Regions from separate parts of the Homo sapiens genome. Here region 2 is linked to region 1. Evidence: promoter capture Hi-C in 16 types of primary human blood cells and fetal thymus (Javierre and others, 2016). All regions are on one chromosome and are shown on one strand. Each heading gives the region's core, a stretch centred on a gene start or on the middle of the fragment in contact. The rest is flanking DNA. Distances are from core to core; before and after follow the strand shown.

What was found. The method cuts DNA at HindIII sites, captures the fragments that hold promoters and counts their contacts. A CHiCAGO score of 5 or more calls a contact.
Region 2: a fragment that was not itself captured here is called in contact with the fragment with the promoter of YY1 in region 1 in 1 of 17 cell types (erythroblasts); the score reaches 5.0 in erythroblasts.

The regions. Positions count from the first base shown.
Region 1 is chr14:100,236,347-100,241,233 of GRCh38, reverse strand. YY1 (YY1 transcription factor) reads right to left here and starts at 2,090. Exons shown (of 5, transcript NM_003403.5): 1 at 1,311-2,090. The coding sequence starts at 1,989. It overlaps YY1-DT (YY1 divergent transcript), which reads left to right and starts at 2,613. Exons shown (of 2, transcript NR_189150.1): 1 at 2,613-2,763. RefSeq lists silencers at 489-1,168, 1,439-1,488, 1,979-2,048, 2,199-2,278, 2,339-2,938 and enhancers at 1,179-1,338, 2,176-3,028. The HindIII fragment of the contact is 3,842 bases long and covers 441-4,282 here.
Region 2 is chr14:99,684,976-99,689,862 of GRCh38, reverse strand. The region is part of intron 1 of CYP46A1 (cytochrome P450 family 46 subfamily A member 1); the gene reads right to left. Among named protein-coding and RNA genes, the nearest start is that of CYP46A1, 3.1 kb to the right of the region's middle. The HindIII fragment of the contact is 3,529 bases long and covers 1,216-4,744 here.

The DNA.
Region 1 (4,887 bases), core at 841-3,340:
TGGAGTACTAAACGTAATCATCACAGGCATTAGATTAACTACGATGGCAGGATTATTCTCAGTCTATTTAGTATCTCAGCAATTTAGCTAGGTAGCATATGAATATACTAATAGGATACTGACCTAAAAAACCAGCATTGAATTAATAATTGCCTTTGAAGTAAAAACAGATTTTACACAGGCAGATAAGATCCTTTTGCTCTAGATGGTTTTCAGGCCTTCGTTAAAAGTAGTATTAAAACAGTAAAACAAAACTCAAAAAAACCCGCTTTCTATTATCGTTCTTTTCATGGGGAAAATAGATACCTTTCTACAAAGTAAAAACCATAAAGGCTTAAAATTAAACTACCCGATTTTATTTACTGGCAAATGTCCACAGTTGAGTAAACTAACCCAACCTATTCAGAAGAGCTAAATACTTGAGGGAAAAAAAAAAAGCTTTCCCAAAACGTAAGTGACTAAGAATTATTCGCTAACATTCACAGGCCCTTTCCACTAGGTACCGCAGGAAGGCGAAAAGGCCAGGAATTCGCTGGCAACGGCGGTGACAGGCTCCGACTGACGCTCGGAGCCCGCACACGCGAGCCCTACGTGCAGCCCCAAGTCCCGCCCCGCAGCAAACGACGACTTGGGCGAGCGTGACCGCCGGGGCAGGGTCCAGCCCGGCGCTGGGTGGGCGGGGAGCAAGGAGGCCGGAGGGCGCCCACGAGTGCCAAGCCCCCTCCTTCTGGAAGGTGCCACCGGGGAGCAGTTGGGAGTCCGGGGAAGTTGGGGGCGGGCGGGGCAAGCGCCCGCGGCGCCCTCCAGCGGCCGATGGGGTAACGGCAGCGCCGGGCGGGGGCGGGGGCGCGCGTCCCGGAGGCAGCAATCCCTGGCCCGCGAGGCCGCGGCGCAGCCCCGCCAACGACCTCCCGCGTCCCGCCCGGGCCGGGGGCGCGCAGCTGCCGCCACAACGGGCCGGCGGGCGCGCCCGTTGATGCGGGCGCGGGGAGCGAGGGCGTCGGGGAGCGAGCGCGCCGGCCCCTCCCCCGGCCGTCTCCGCCCCGCGCGGCGCTTCCCCCTCTCGGAGAAACTACGCCATTGCGGCCTAGCCGGGCGGCGCCGGCCCCTCCCCCCCGCGGCCTGCCGCCATCTTCGCGGCCCGCCGCCCGCCGCCGCCGCCGCGCCCCCGCCGCCGCACGGCCCGCCATCTTTTGGGGCCGCCATACTTGCCCTGGCGAAGAAGATGGCGGCGCCCATCACACACATAAAACATGGCTTCCCTTCAAAACAAAAACATCCCGGGGCCGGGGCGCGCGGCCGGCGCTCACCTGAGGACCACATGGTGACCGAGAACTCGCCCTCCAGGGTCTTGATCTGCACCTGCTTCTGCTCCCACTTCTTGTTGCCCGGGTCGGCGCCGCCGCCGCCCGCCGCGCCGGCCCCGCCGCTGAGGTAACTCTTCTTGCCGCTCTTCTTGCCGCCGCCCTTCTTGACGCGGCCGCCTCCCGACGACGACGAGCCGCCGCCGCCGCTCTTGCCGGCCGCCGCCACGGTGACCAGCGTTTGTTCAATGTAGTCGTCGTCGCCGCCGGCCGGCGCGGGCACCGGGATGAGAATCTGATCCTCGAAGCCGTCCTCGGCGCGCAGCCCGTCCGAGTCGTCGCCGCCCACCACCTCCTCGCGCGTCTGCACCAGGATCACCTCCTGGTGGTGGTGCACCTGGGTCGGGTCGTCGGTGACCAGCGGCTGCAGAGCGATCATGGGCGGGTGGTGGTGGTGGTGATGGTGGTGGTGGTGGTGGCCGGCGTGCCCGTGGCCGCCCCCGCCGCCGTGGTCGCCACCGCCGCCGTCCTCGTCGTCGTCGTCCTCCTCCTCCTCCTCGCCCACCACTGTGGTCTCGATGGTCTCCACCGGGATGGTCTCCACCTCGATCTCGTGCAGCTCCACGATCTCGGCCGGCATCTCCGAGCCGTCCGTGGCGATGTAGAGGGTGTCGCCCGAGGCCATGGCTGAGGGCTCCGCCGCCACGGCCGCGGCGGCCTCGGCTCCTCGGCTGCGGGCGGGCGGGCGAGGAGGCGGCCGGCCGTGGGGAAGGAAGGCAGAGGGAGGAAGGCGGCGAGCGGGCGGGGGGAGAGGGGGCGGGCGGCGGGGGAAGGGGCGGGCGCCGCGGCGGCGGCGGGGCTTCCCCGCCTCCCTCGCCTCGGTGCGCCCGCGCCCGCGCTCGCTCGGCCGCTGCTCGTCTCGGCTCCCCGCCTCGCCTCGCCTCGCCGCAACCGCCCGCCCTGGCCGCGCCTCCTCCCGCCCTCCGGGCCGGCGCTCCGCTTCCCCCTTCCTCCTGCGCCTCCGCCTCCTTCCACACAAATACCAACTCCTCAACCCGAGCCCAGATCTCGCCGCCGCCGCCACACTCTGCTCGGGCCCGGCCTCGCGAGACTTCCGCGCTGGCCTCAGCCCGCCCCGCCTCGCTGCCACTCGCCCGTTCGCCCTCTCGATTCTCCTCTCGGCCAATCGATCTGTCCGCTGGCCTCCGCGGCCCCGCCCACTCGCCGGGCTCCTCCCGGATTGGGGCCGATGGGACCGGGGGCGGGGCGGCTCGCACGCGCCCTGGCTGGCCCGCGGCGCGTGACGTCAGCGCGCCGCCGCCGCCGCCACCGCCTCCCGCTTCCCGGTGTCGCGCGGCTGCCGCCCTTCGCGGTGCAACAGCCACAAAACCCGCCGCCTCGGGCCGGGGCCGCACTCGGGAACGGGGCGTCGCCGCTACAGCCGCTGCCTTGGGAGCCGGTGAGCGGTCCGCGCGGCCCCGGGCACCACGGGGGCGGGAGCCTGAGGAGAAGGGAGGGAGGGGCCGGCCGGGAGCGGGGTTGAGGCGGGTGGGCGGCCCGGGGGCCGCGCGGGGAGCGGCTGGCGCGTGCGGGGCGGCCCTGTCGCCCCAATAAAGTCTGCTTTGACGAGAATCGCCTGTGCTTCCTTTTTCGCGTCGGGAGGTGTTTGTTCTTGTCGCCTGGCTTCGGGCGAGCGATGGCCGCGGGGTGAGTGTGGAGGACCGAACGGACAAAATCGGGCGACGCGGGCAGCGTCCGGTATCTCGCCGCGAGCGCCCGGCGGGGTGCGGGGCCGAGCGCGGGGTCGGCGCGAGCTCGGCGGAAGCGCCCGCGGAGCCCCAGGGCCACCGTTGGGAGGATGTCCGTTATTCTTTAGTGACCCGCGGAAACCTGAGACGCAGCCGTTGGGTGCCTGTTTCCCCGTAGATCTTAGAACTACAGGGTCCTGGCGGCTTTCTAAAATTTTCTCCTGAGCTTCCCCTTCTTTGCTCTCCAGTCAGCCATTGTTTCCCTTGCCCACCCTTTCCCCCTATTTGTCACTTTCATAGGTGCTCCTTTTTACGCCCACCAGGTTTTGCATTTGTCTCATTTAAAATTCCAAATTTTTTCAGCCGTGTCCTCCATTGTACCTGCAACAGAGCCTAGATTTTTTTTTGTGGCACGGATTAGCGGCAAGTTAAACCTTCCTGAATGAGTTACATTGCAGCGAAGTGTTTCTGCTCTTATCTGTCCTTTTGGTCGACCTGACAATTTGCCTTAAAGCAAAACAAAGATTTCCTGATTTTTAAGGAAACTATGACAAATTGAAGAGTTGGAAAGGTGTGTCTTTGTTGTACTCGTTTGGCCGATTTAACGCCTCTGTGAATTTGTTCAACTTAAATATTATCAACATTTACTGTTTTGTAATAGTGTTCATGCAGTTGAGGCCCATGATTTTCTGAACTGTACGCAATACATTAATCTTAGGCTCAACTTGTTAAAACAAGTAGACTATACATTCTCATTAAAAGGCAACTTTATAAATCCTAGTCCCTTCTTATTGCTAAATCGCATTGGACTTGACTTTTGAGAATATTAGTGTAAGGAGTGACAAATTAGATCGTTTTCTCTTTGAATCTGAGCTTTGAAACCTGAATAATTCCCCTTGGAGTACTGCACCCACTCAGTTTGGAAAAGTCAAATCTGTTGAATTAAGTCATCTCTGGCTTTATAGCTTATAAACTCTGCATAAATATTTCATGAATGGAAACCAGTTGTGGGAGAACTTTTACATGTCTTAATGCTTTTTAAATTTCACTTTCCCCACTCTCTAGTAATTGATGGGGAAATGGCACTGCAAGTAGTTGATACTTCCCCATAAACACCAATTGTGAGAGCAAGAGAAATGAGGGAATTACCCATTAAGCATCCTGGTTTCTGAGCTGTAGATCTGTAGGTGTTCACATTCAAGTGGAGAAAGCCCAAAAGGATTGAAAGCTTTGAGGAAAGGTAGTAGGTCAGAAAGCACTAAAATGCTCCTGAAGGCCATCCTAGTACCTGCTCCAGAAAATAGCTTTTTAAACTTGCCCCATAGGAGGTGACCTGTTAGGCCTTAAGTTTTTCTAGTGGGAGATATTCTTGTTTTCTACTGTTTAACGGTGGAGTATCTTATGACTAGACATGCAAAGATAATGTGTCGTGTGGCTCTCGCTTGCTTGCACTTGCTAAAGGTAAAAATTATTTTAAAAGGACAGGTCAAATTGCAGTTTCAGAATCATGGGATTCTAAAAGTGAGGATAGGCTGGGCGTGGTGGCTCACACCCATAATCCCAGCACTTTGGGAGGCTGAGGTAGGTGGATCACCTGAGGTCAGGAGTTCCAGACTAGCCTGGCCAACATGGTGAAACCCCGTCTCTACTGAAAATACAAAAATAAGCTGGGCGTGGTGGTGCACGCCTGTAGACCCAGCTACTTAGGAGACTGAGGCAGGTGAGTTAATGGAAACCAGGAGGCGGAGGTTGCAACGAGCCGAGATCGCGCCACTGCACTCCAGGCTGGGTGACAGAGTGACACTCTGTCTCTAAAAAATAGTAATAAAAGTGAG
Region 2 (4,887 bases), core at 1,731-4,230, 550 kb after region 1:
CTTGGGTTTGAATGGATTGTTTTGCAGCAGTGCAGAGAGTAACCAGGGTAGGGGAGGAAGCAGGGACACTAGTGACAGGGAAGGACTGGGAGAGGTGACGAGGGCTCAGAACAGAGCAGGGCAGCGGAGGCAATGATAAGAAGAGGTCAGATTCTGAATGCTCTGTGAGGCGGAATACTGGAACGTGCCGTTTGGCTATGGGGGTGTGAGGATGACTCTGTGTTTTTGGCCTGGGCTGCTGGAAGAATGGATGGAGCGACCATCTACCAAGATGAGGAGGAGCTGGTTGGGGTGGCAGAGCCACCGTGCCCACCCCCTGCAATTTGCCAGGGCCGTCTCTGGCTCTGCCCACAGGAGATGAACCCACTTTGAGCAGCCCTCCACCAATGACCTCAGCCCCTCCACTTCTGGGGTAGCTCTGGGCATGTGCTCTACACAAGTCCCCAGGGTTCCCAGGGAATTGCACCTGTTTCCCCAAGAGGTAACTTGTTTTATTGGTTTGTTTACCTTCTTTATCCACTCTCCTCCTCCCACTGCTCAAACTGGGATCATCCCCCACCTCCTAAACTACTTACACTTCATTTCTTATCTCAGGATCAGCTTTGGGGGGACCAATCTCAGACAAGCAGATGAAATTAGGAGCTTGGCTTGGGACCGGTAAGGTTTGTGGTGGACTATTGAGCAGGAAGTTAGACACTCAGATCTGGAGCCCAGGGAAGGGCTGTAGGCTAGAGACATAAATTTGAGAGCCCACAGCAGAGAAGTGGTATTTCCAGCCCAGTGATTGGATGAGGCCACAAGGGAATGGATACAGACAGAGAAGAGGACCAAGAACTAAGCCATCACTGAGAAGTTGGGAGCATAGGGACAGCCAGCCAAGTGGACTGAGCGGGAGCACTGGGGAGGAGGGAAGAGAGCCAGGAGAGTTGGGTGAGAAGCCAGAGGAGGATGCGGGACAAGGCGGAGGGGGCATCGGCTCTGCCCAGGCTGCTGGGGGCCAGGTCAGACGAGGATCCAGGGCTGACGGCTGGGTGCGACAACATGGAGATCACCGGGAACCGAGCCCCCAGCAAGTTTGGTGGAGAGGTATGGGGCAGAGAGAACCAGAGGGGAGAAAAGGGAGGCCCAAAGGCAGGCAGTCAGCCAGGTGGGTTACCATAGGGGGCGGCAGCTACAGGGAACGAGAGGGTGAAGGGAAAGGTTTTGTTCCAAGCTTTGAATTCTTACATATTATATAAAAATGGGGATGATGCAGAAGAGGAGGAAAAGTGCTGATTTGGAGGTGGGGGTGCTCCTAGGACAGGGTTGCTGAGCAGAGGGGGCAGGTTGGCCTGGGCTACCCTCCCGGAACAGCTGGAAGGTGTGCGTGGGCCTGGGGCAGGAGGTGGGCAGCTGCTCAGTGGAGCCCAGGAAGGAAACTCTCACCGGCTGCTCCCTTTGCTCAGGGAAGTAGGAGGCAAGAATAAAAGCTGAGAGTGCGGATGGAGGGGGAGGTGATGGGGACTGAAGCAGGAAGGGAGAGTAGGCGAATAAACGCCCTGGGGAAGGAAGTACGGGGTGGCCGCCTGCCCGCAGTGGAGGCCCACGCCAGGTGAGTGGCCTTGAACTTGCAGGAAGATGGGCTGTGATCATCACACATGCCTGGATGTATTTCCAGAGTAATCTAGTGTCCTCATTGTCGCTTCCCAAAGCTCACATTCTGGGGGAATGTTCTCAGTTTTGAGTCACTTAAGTGAGGACAGAGTCTGAGCCCAGAGCTTCCACCCTAACCCCTGGGGTTCCCTGCCACATGGGAAGGAAGGTGAGTGCCATCTCAGGAAGACAGAGGGCACAGAGAGGGGTGGGGTCCTCATGGCCCACCAAGAAAGGGGAAAAAAAACCCATTCCTTCTGGCACCTGCAGGGGGCGCTGGGGAGGCGACAACAGAACAGGAAGACCCAGGTGTTAAAAACAAGCAGGTAAGGCTAACACCATGGCCAGACATGGGGACTTGTTGCTCAGCGCCCCGGCAGGCAGAAGCCCACTTGGCATGTCCCTGGTGATAGACTGGACACAGCAGAGCAGCCCTGGGAGAGAGGAGAGGCAATCCCCCACCGCCCACCACCCCACACCTCTCCAGCACATCCAGTTTCCTGCAACATCATGATTGGCTGAGTGGGGACCCAAGCTCTCCTGTGGGCAGAGAAAACCTTGGCCAGTGAACGAGGAGAGGCCATCTGGAGAGCCCACAGTGAAGTCACCCAGAGGGATGAAGGGAATGCTCCAGTAGTGGAGGAGCGGGCTACCCACTAGGGGTAGGCGTGAGGGTGAGGGACCATGATTGTGGCTCATGCCAGAGGGGCAGGGTGGCGAGTGCTCAGCTGGGCACCCAAAGCTCATCAGATGCACCACCCGCCAGAGCCAGCTGTGGGGCTCCCCCATGGCTGGCCACCCTGCTCCTTGCTGAACAGCCCCACCCCAGCAACTGGGCAAATCGGAGTGGAACCAGAACTGTCCAGGAGGAGTCAATTTATCCCCAAATAAATAAAAATTGGGAGAGAAAGACCTTTCATTGTCAAGTTTACATCCACTCCCACATTACCAGGAGAGTAGGGGCTGATGAGGGAAGTTAGAACAGTGACAGAGAAATAAAGAAGCTACAGGTGTTTGTGTGGGATCTGAGTGTGGGGGTCTGAGTTTTCAGCTGTTACACGGATCGGTGCAGTAGGATGTGGTAAGAAAAGCACAGAGGAGGGGCACTGAGGGAGGGCCTCCTGTAGAATGAGGAAGATGAAGAGTTGCCTCTTGCAGCGAGAGGGTTCCTTGCCTGCCAGCTGGCAAAGCCCTGGGGTACCCGGGGGCAAATGCTACTACTGGAGACTCAACACACAGATCTCTCGTCAACCACAGTATCGCCAATCATAGTTTAAAGATCCAGGCTTTTAATGTCAAGGCATCGGGTTTCTGCTAGAAGAGTTTCCAGAACTTTCATTTAGTGCAGTTTTATATTTGACCACTAACCAATTTTTAATCCAAAATCTTTTTATATATGCATTGTTCAGTTCACCTCCTTAGAATAAATAGCCCAATCATGATTATATTCATCTTCCTCCCACTGCTCCCTCCGCACCCCACACACTCAGGTCACATGTAGACTCTGTGGTATAAGATTTGGGAAGAATTTAGCCATAAGAAGGAAAGCAATAAGGATACATGCTACTACATGAATGAACTTTTGAAACATTATACTAAGTGAAAGAAGCCAGACACAAAAGGCCACATATTGTATGATTCCATTTATATGAAATGTCCAGAACAGGCAAATCCACAGAGACAGAAAGCAGATTCATGGTTGCCAGGGCTGTGAGGGGTGGGAGAAAATGAGGAGTGATGGCTAATGGGTACGGGGTTTCTTTCTGGGGTGACAAAACAGTTCTGAAATCGGTGGCGATGGCTGCACAGTGCTGTGAATGTACCAAAAACCACTGAATCATACACTAAAGAATACATTTTGTGGAATGCAAGTTACATTTCAATTTTTTTTAAGATGATTTAAATTCTGCTTTCTCAAGACACAGAGACCAGAACAGGTCATTTGAGTTTATGAGAAGACCAAGTAACGATGAAACTTATCAGAACAAGCACCAAACTCATTCAATTCTAAGTGCTGATGGCTTCTCTGAAAACTTGAGAGGGTGATAGTGTCCACCACGGAACTCACGGGAGATTTCCACCATTCAACCTTGAATTGCTATTCATAGAGTGTCTACTATGCATGTACAATGTGCTGCTACATGTCGGAGATGCAGCAGTGACTGAGACAGACAGGGGGCCCATGGAAAAGAGACACTTAGGAAAAACTTGCACAAATAATTGCCCAATTAACATTATGCTGTAAAGGAAAATTACAGTGATTTCAGGGTTTATAAAATGAACATAATATTTTTGGGGGAGCAGGAGGAACCTCCCTGAGGAGTTAGCATTGAAGCCAAACCTGGAAGGCTGGGGGAAGAAGCATCCAGGTAAAGTAGAAGGCAGAGGAGCTAAGCAAGGAGAGAGAGAGAGAGCACCAGAAGGGCAGAGAGCCAGCAGGGAGAACAGGTGCCTCCCTATGTCACCAGCCACAGAGATCTTTCCTGAACCCATCAAGCAGAGATTCAGGCTTCTAACGCCAGTACATCTGGCTTGTGCTGGAGATGGGTGCCTTCCAGAATATTCATGTCCTGAGATTTTAAAAAGTGTGTCTAATACAATTGTTTATTCATTCATTCAACAAATATTTATTGAGATCTGCAACACGCCAGGCACTGGGGATACACAAGCGAACACAGAGTGTCCCTGTCCTCCCGGGGCTCACATTCTAGAGGGGGAGACAGTCAACAGGTGAACAGACAGTCAACAGGTGGAAAGAAGGTAACCTCAGAGGTGATGGCCCCTGAGAAGTCTGGGGCTGGGTGGTCTTTACACAAGGTGCTGGGCAAGGCCTGTTTGAGACAAGCAGAGGAAGAAGCCCGCCAGGCCCAGGCTTGAGAAAAGGACCCGGGGGGAGGGAAGCTGCGGGGGGGGCGGGGGGAGGGGGAGGCTGGGAGAAGAAAGGCTGGGGGCAGTAGTGAGAAAGCAAGAGGAAAGAGCAAGCTGCAGAGTGGGTTCTGAGTGCTCGGCAGGGGCCTCGCGGGCCATGCAGCCGACTTAATTTAGAACTGCATTTAGTTGTCAAGTGATGGGAAGCCCTTGGAGCAGGGAAATGACACATTTAATTTAAGCTTCACAAAGCTAAGCTGGGGGTGGGGGGGGGTTGGCAAGTTGAGGGGGGTGTAAGTTGCGTGGGGGTGGGGACCAAGAATGCAATTGTAAGTACTAAGGAGAAGACAAATGGGGTGTCCCAGAACAGAAATACAAGCAAAAGGA